Regions from separate parts of the Homo sapiens genome. Here region 2 is linked to region 1. The links are contacts of gene promoters, found by promoter capture Hi-C in blood cells and fetal thymus (Javierre and others, 2016). All regions are on one chromosome and are shown on one strand. Each heading gives the region's core, a stretch centred on a gene start or on the middle of the fragment in contact. The rest is flanking DNA. Distances are from core to core; before and after follow the strand shown. Region 1 holds the start of MYBL2 (MYB proto-oncogene like 2). Region 2 overlaps OSER1 (oxidative stress responsive serine rich 1).

What was found. The method cuts DNA at HindIII sites, captures the fragments that hold promoters and counts their contacts. A CHiCAGO score of 5 or more calls a contact.
Region 2: a fragment that was not itself captured here is called in contact with the fragment with the promoter of MYBL2 in region 1 in 4 of 17 cell types (monocytes, M0 macrophages, naive CD4 T cells and 1 more); the score reaches 6.2 in monocytes.

The regions. Positions count from the first base shown.
Region 1 is chr20:43,664,818-43,668,363 of GRCh38, forward strand. MYBL2 (MYB proto-oncogene like 2) reads left to right here and starts at 2,297. Exons shown (of 14, transcript NM_002466.4): 1 at 2,297-2,486. The coding sequence starts at 2,467. RefSeq lists silencers at 2,092-2,386, 2,123-2,502 and enhancers at 2,092-2,386, 3,153-3,202. The HindIII fragment of the contact is 3,026 bases long and covers 262-3,287 here.
Region 2 is chr20:44,195,388-44,198,933 of GRCh38, forward strand. It overlaps OSER1 (oxidative stress responsive serine rich 1), which reads right to left. Exons shown (of 4, transcript NM_016470.8): 4 at 552-2,352. The coding sequence ends at 1,665. Among named protein-coding and RNA genes, the nearest start is that of JPH2, 10 kb to the left of the region's middle. The HindIII fragment of the contact is 2,051 bases long and covers 593-2,643 here.

The DNA of each region.
Region 1 (3,546 bases), core at 1,047-3,546:
TTTGAATCCGGGAAGTGGGGGTTGCAGTGAGCCAAGATCACACCACTGCACTCCAGTCTGGGCAATAAAGCAAGACTTGGTCTAAAAAAAAAAAAAAAGTTAAGTAATTTGCCTAAGATACCGCAACTGAATGGTGGAGCTGGGACTCAAACCCCAGGAAGTTTGGCTGTGGAGGCTGTGCTTTCAATGAAGTGGGCATGTCCACATTAATTACTTTATAAGGGGAGTGGGCGGGAGAAACCCTGAATTAAGTGATGTGGAAGCTTCTAGCACTTAAGATGTGAGTTAGTCTTCCTTCTGTGGTAAGTGAAGTTTGCAGCAGCTGGTGGCTGGACTGTCCCCAGGTGGCCAGCAGCTTCTGGAAGGGGGCTCTGAGGCCTGAACAGGGGCTAAAAGGCTGGGGTTTGATTTGGTTTCTTCAGCGTCCTGTCTCAGAGCTCATTTATCTTCCTCTCAGCACTGCTCCCAGGAAGTCCAGTGTGACTTGATCCTTGGTACTTGGTAAATGTCAATCTAATATAGAAAACCTTTGCTAAATCTCAAGGAAAGACAGTCTCACTGTCTGTCGCCCAGGCTGGAGTGCAGTGGCGGGATGACAAGGGCTTGAGCCCCTCGAACTCCTGGGCTCAAGCAATCCTCCTGCCTCTGCTTCCCAAGTAGCTGGGATTACAGGCATTCACCACCACAGCCAGGTAATTTCTTAATTTTTTGTAAAGACAGGGTCTCACTCTGATCCCCAGGCTGGTCTCAAACTTTTGGACTGAATCAGTTCTCCCACCTCGGCCTCCCAAACTGCTAGGATTACTGGCATGAGCCACTAAATCTGGGCTAATCTCTGGGAGTTTAAACCCAAGGTAAACAATTCAATGCAACAAACCTTTGCCTGGGGCTTCTTATGTCAGGTCTTCTACTGGGCCCTGGAGATACTGGTGTGCATTGAGAGGCCACCTGGACCTCAGGATGCTCCCAGTTCAAAGGGGGAAATGCAGAAGTCTACAGGCAGATTGTGGGCAGTGGACCCCAAATTAAATAGGAATCAGCCACGTGGGAGGGGCAGGAAGTGTTCCTGCCCTGGGTAATGGCTCAGGCAAAGGCAAAGAGGCCGTTTCTTTTGGCCAGGGCTGGGTGGTGGTCTGGAAGATCAGATAAATGTGATTGTGGAGTAAGGAATTTACCCTGAGGGAGAGGAGGATGGTTTTAAATTCTGGAAAGAGCTCACGCCTGCAATCCCAGCACTTTGGGAGGACAAAGCGGCAGGATCTCTTGAGCCCAGGAGTTTCTAGACCAGTCTAGGCAACAGCAACATAGCAAGACACCCCCTTCTCTTAAAAAAAAAAAAAAAAGCGCAGTGGCTCACTCCTGTAATTCCAGCACTTTGGGAGGCCGAGGCGGGCGGATCACGAGGTCAGGAGACCTATACCATCCTGGCCAACATGGTGAAACCTCGTCTCTACTAAAATACTAAAAAAAAAAAAAAAAAAAAAAAAAAATTGCCGGGCGTGGTGGTGTGCGCCTGTAGTTCCAGCTACTTGGGAGGCTGAGGCGGGGGAGTCGCTTGAACCCGGGAGGTGGAGGTTGCAGTGAGTCAAGATCGCGCCACTGCACTCCAGCCTGGCGACAAAGCGAGACACCGTCTCAAAAAAAAAAAAAAAAAAAATCAGCCGGGTGTAGTGGCGAGTGCCTGGTCTTAGCTACCCGTGAGTTGAGGTAGGAGGATCGCTTGAGCCTAGGAGGTGGAGGTTGCAGTGAGCTATGATCGCGAAACTGCACTCCAGCCTGGGCGACAGAGCAAGACCCTGCCTCTAAGAAAAATGAACAACAAAAAATAAAGTCTATTAAGGAGGGTCTCTTGGAGGCAGGAGAGGAAGCAGGGAGAGGCACAGGTAGGGTGAGGAGCCGCTTTAGGGTGCGGCTCTAGGGACCCAGTAGTGGCTTGGACTAGCGTGGGGGATTCCGCCCTGGCGCTTTCCCTGGCTGGCTCTCCCATGCTCGCGCCTCGCTCCCCTTCCTCGGTCTTCGCTATGTGGGATACTCCTGGGCCGCCCCGGACTGACACGTGAGCCAGGCCTCGGTCACATCCCGGCCCGCTCCACAACTCCGAAGTAGCGGCCGCCGCCCCTGTCCTGCAGCCGGCCCTGGAGGGTCTGGGCAGGTGCCGCCCCGCAGGCCCCGCCCCGCCCCGCCCCCTGGCTCCGCCCCTCACTCAGGCCCCTCCCCCGGCGCCCGCGCGCCAGGACTGGGCGGCGCCGACGCGCTTGGCGGGAGATAGAAAAGTGCTTCAACCCGCGCCGGCGGCGACTGCAGTTCCTGCGAGCGAGGAGCGCGGGACCTGCTGACACGCTGACGCCTTCGAGCGCGGCCCGGGGCCCGGAGCGGCCGGAGCAGCCCGGGTCCTGACCCCGGCCCGGCTCCCGCTCCGGGCTCTGCCGGCGGGCGGGCGAGCGCGGCGCGGTCCGGGCCGGGGGGATGTCTCGGCGGACGCGCTGGTGAGACGAGCCGGGAGGGCTTGGGCCCCTCCCCCTCCCTTTAACTCACCCCTCCCCCACCCAGATACCCCCGACCCTCCCCAGGCTCCCACCAAGCTGGGGTGTGTGTGTGTGTTGGGGGTGGGGTGTTTCCGCGGAAATGCTGCGTCCTGGGCCCTCTGAGGCAGGGGCGCGCGTAAAGCTGGGGGGCTCTTGGGCGTCCCTCGCGGCTCCCCAGGCCTGTTGGGCCTCGGAGCTGGGACGGGCGGGTCTCTTGGGACCCGGGCCAAGCCGTGCATGATGTCATTTTGTCTCCCGCCTAATTGCGGGATGGGGGTGGGCCGGCCGGTGTCAGCTGGCAGGGCCTTCGCCGGCGAGGGAGGCGACCCCTGGGAGCGAGAGGGAGTCTTCAAGTCCCAGCCAGTGGGAGACCGAGCCTGGGAGGCACTTGTTGCAGCCTAGTTTTGGGTCAACTTGGTGGGTGGGCTTTGCTCCTTAACATTCCGGGGAGCACAGAGTCCCCCAAGCCCTCTCCCCTGGACTGAGAAGGGTGCTGAGTTGGGGGCTCTTTTGTCTCTCCCACCTGGGTTCCGCGCCCCAGCTTGGTTCGGTTTGAGACCTCTCTTCCTGTTCCCACGAGGAGTTTTGGGCAGCTGGGGTTGAAGGTGCGGGGGAGAGAGAGAGTCCCTGGGGCAAAGGCAGGAACTGCGGTCTCCATTTTACTTATTTCCCCAGAGACTTAAGTGGCAGAGCTGAGCCCGGAGCCAGGTCTGTGGCTCCAGATCCCTGTCTTACACCTGTGCGCCTGGGGCCTGAGCTCCAAGCTTTTCAGCCTGCCTGGGAGACAGGACAGTGGGGTCCTGACCTCTTCCCTGCCTGGATCGCTGCAGCTCAGATAACCTTCGTTCCCTCTTTTTTTTTTTTTTTTTTTTTTTTGAGAAGGAGTCTCGCTCTGATGCCCAGGCTGGAGTGCAGTGGCGCGATCTTGGCTCACTGCAACCTCCGCCTCCCAGGTTCAAGCGATTCTCCTGCCTCAGCTTCCCGAGTAGCTGGGACTTCAGGCACGTGTCACCACGTCGGG
Region 2 (3,546 bases), core at 368-2,867, 530 kb after region 1:
ACATATGAGAATCTGTCTTCTAATTAAGCCAAACATTAAAAAAGATTTGCAAAAAGGTAGAACAATGCCACTCTTCTATTTTTTGTTTTGGAAAAGCTATTTTTCATTCAAAAATTTTGTTAGCTTGTAATGAGTTTTTAAATATTTAAAAAAATCTTAGTTTTAATTTCTAACATGGTAAATATTTATATCCTTTTGGAGATTATAACAAAACCTTTTGGGTCCTGAATTTGTCAGTGTAAAGGAAGTGCTTACAAAAAGTTTGAGAATTTCTGCCTTAGATATACTAAATAGTGTACCTTCTGTCACCATTATCAGGAAATATCTGTCACAGCTTCTAGAACTGTGATAAGGTATTTTGCTCCCTTGCTTTAACCACAGCCTTCAGATGTCACTAAATCCACACCAAACCAATGACCAGCAGAGGACTCCCACTACTACTTAAGCTTAGGGTTTTTCTAGTAAACACCCTTCCCCTCTCCCCCAAGTACAAATCACCTATTTGTTGAAGCCCACATCCCATTATCATGAATCAACCACAGCCAGCGCAGTTTTAGTAAATAGTATAAATGTATTTTGTAATTTAAACAAAAGCTTCTGTTAACATTATTGCTAACATGGCTAGACACTGTCACTAAATTTGGTGGCTCTGCTCAGGATGGTCTGAACACATGCAACATTCTTTTTGGAGCCACCTGAAAAACAAGGATTCATCATCCAGCTGAAACCGAAGACAGATTTTTTTTTTACCAAACTGGAGGGAATTTTGAAATGGCTGACCAAATCTGTGGGATACAGAATGTACAAAATTCTCTTTTAGGGTTGCTGGGGTGACAGGGCAGCTCAAAGAGGTAACCATCTATAACATCTGAAACTGAGGTATGAGACCTGTATTACAACTGATAACAAAAAAAAAAAAAAAAAACCGCCATATATTTAAAATGCTGGAGATGGTGAAGACACACACTCGTTTCAAATATTACACCCCCTCCCTCCAACTGAAGCAGCCCATTCCAAGCTGCTTACTTGAAACTGCATGTAACATGTCTTAGGATGAATAGCACCAGCAGGGGCTTATTTAGTGATGGTTAATAACTCTCTCAAACAATAGAGGGCAGGCCAGCTAGTTTATTCAAATTGAATCTAAACCTTAGATCTCTGGCTTAACAATAACAAGAGAAACCTTTATAGACACAATATATCTTGCATTAAATCAGAGACGGTTTAAATCAGTCTTGTAACTTCTAATATTCTGGGCTGGCAACTACAGCATGACAAATGTTTAGTGCAGTTACAAAATCACATTTTACTTTCCTTGGCTAGCAAACCTTAAACAAATCTGAAAAATGCACTGTTTTACAAAGGCTTTTACCATATACCCACTGCTGCCAGTCTCAAGTAATTATGGTTTCTTCATCCCCCAGGAACATTTCTAAATAAGGGGGATTTTTCTTTGATCTGCTCGCCTTGAAGTGTATGTAAGAACTCAAGAGAGTAAGTTGAAAGAATGAAGATTAACTGAGATGCCAAGAAAAGTTTTTATTGCAAGCACAGTGAGCAGAAAGAGATGTCTTCTCACACAAAGTGGCCACAAGGTCTGCCATTAACTAAATCTCTTTGACAAGCCTTCATTGGTTTAAAGCATATGAATTAGCTTCTTGCTATCAGGTGTACATCATTTCTGCCATGTGGGACATTTTCTTGGGAATATACAAGTAATACTCCATGTAGCCTGACAGGTCCTCAATGGTCACATCATCCACGAAGACTCGAGCTTGCTCAGAACAGGATCGGGGAGAGCCAGACAGAGTTCTGGCGTGCAGCGACTGAGAGTAGTCCTCAAGTGTGGATCTTCGTTCTGGAGCCAAGGGAGGGACACTCTGCAGGCCTGAAAAGGAATACACTTCCATATCATGCCATCTCTTACACTGGCATTCCTTGCCTATGCATGTGCATGGCTTGCCCTGGTTTAGCTTGGAAACTGATTGAAAGTCAGAGAGATCACTGGCTTTGAGACTTGCTTGGGGGACTTGGGTAGCGTCAGAGGAGTCTTCCTTCTTACTCTCTGATGGGAGCCTTGGAACAGAAGTTCTCAAAGGCTCAACGACTGCCCCTGTGTGATTAGCATCGAGAGAAGTAGAGCTTTCTCCTGCACTGAACTCTTTAGGGGATGAAATTCCCAGCCCACTGCTGCCATCAGGTGAGTCAGTCTGGCTTTTGTGCTTGAGTTGACTGCTGGAAGAAGACGCTATTGTACTGCAATGTATAAACTTTGGAGGATGAAGGACAGGAGACTTAGAACGTCGACGACGCTGAGTTCTCACTGCTCCTCGTGAAGACTTCCTTGTAGACCTAAAGAGGAAAAAAAATATACAAGAAGATGTTGGGATATGGAGCTGTCCTAAACAGATTCTTTATGACAGTAGGAAATTTACCTTCCCTCAGCTTTATGAGTCTAAGCTCATAAATTTCCTGCAAGAGATGCACCTTCCTCCATTTTCATGCTGCCTAAGTCTTTGTGTCTCAACAACTTCAACATCATCTTATTAGCAAGCTATAGAACGAGGTGAGATAATGGTATTTTTTAACTGAATCACCTGGGCCAAACATTTGGGACAGAACACCTGCCCTGTTCCAACTCTAAGCTTGGGAGCCTTTGACCAGTGGGTCTGAGGGAAGCACCTCAAACATACAACTGAAACCGATCCTGTGAAGCCTAAATATTGTGCCCTAAACCTGAATATAGCAGCTTCAGAACCACTGTGAGGCTAACGTTACAAATGACCATTATGCCATTACTATTAAATAGATTTCTGATTCATTTCTATCATTGGTAACAGCCAATCAATCAAAACCAAAAAACTAACAATATTTACAACCCCTGAGGTTTTCAGATACTGGGAATTACTGGACACACTATGTAAGATAACTATTTATAAAATATTTAAATAGCCAGGCGCGGTGGCTCACGCCTGTAATCCCAGCACTTTGGGAGGCCGAGGCAGGTGGATCACGAGGTCAGGAGATTGAGACCATCCTGGCTAAAGCGGTGAAACCCCGTCTCTACTAAAAATACAAAAAATTAGCCGGGCGTGGTGGTGGGCGCCTGTAGTCCCAGATACTTGGGAGGCTGAGGCAGGAGAATGGCGTGAATCTGGGAGGCAGAGCTTGCAGTGAGCTGAGATCACGCCACTGTACTCCAGCCTGGGCAACAGAGCGAGACTCCGTCTCAAAAATAAATAAATAAATAAATAAAATAAAATAAAATTAAATAAAGAACTGAATGAAAAGAAAAGATACTCAAAACTGCTAAGTGAATTAGAGACAAGAACCAAACAAGACACTAAAAAGCTAAACAGAACACAGTAATCCCATCTTATCCATGGTTTCGCTTTCTACAGTTTCAGTTACCTGCAGTCAACCATGGTCTGAAAATATTAAATAAAAAATTCCAGAAATAAACAATTCATAAGTTTTACATTGCGCCCCACTGTGAGTGGCATGACAAAATCTTGCACCATCCTGCTCCGTCCCACCTGGGATGTG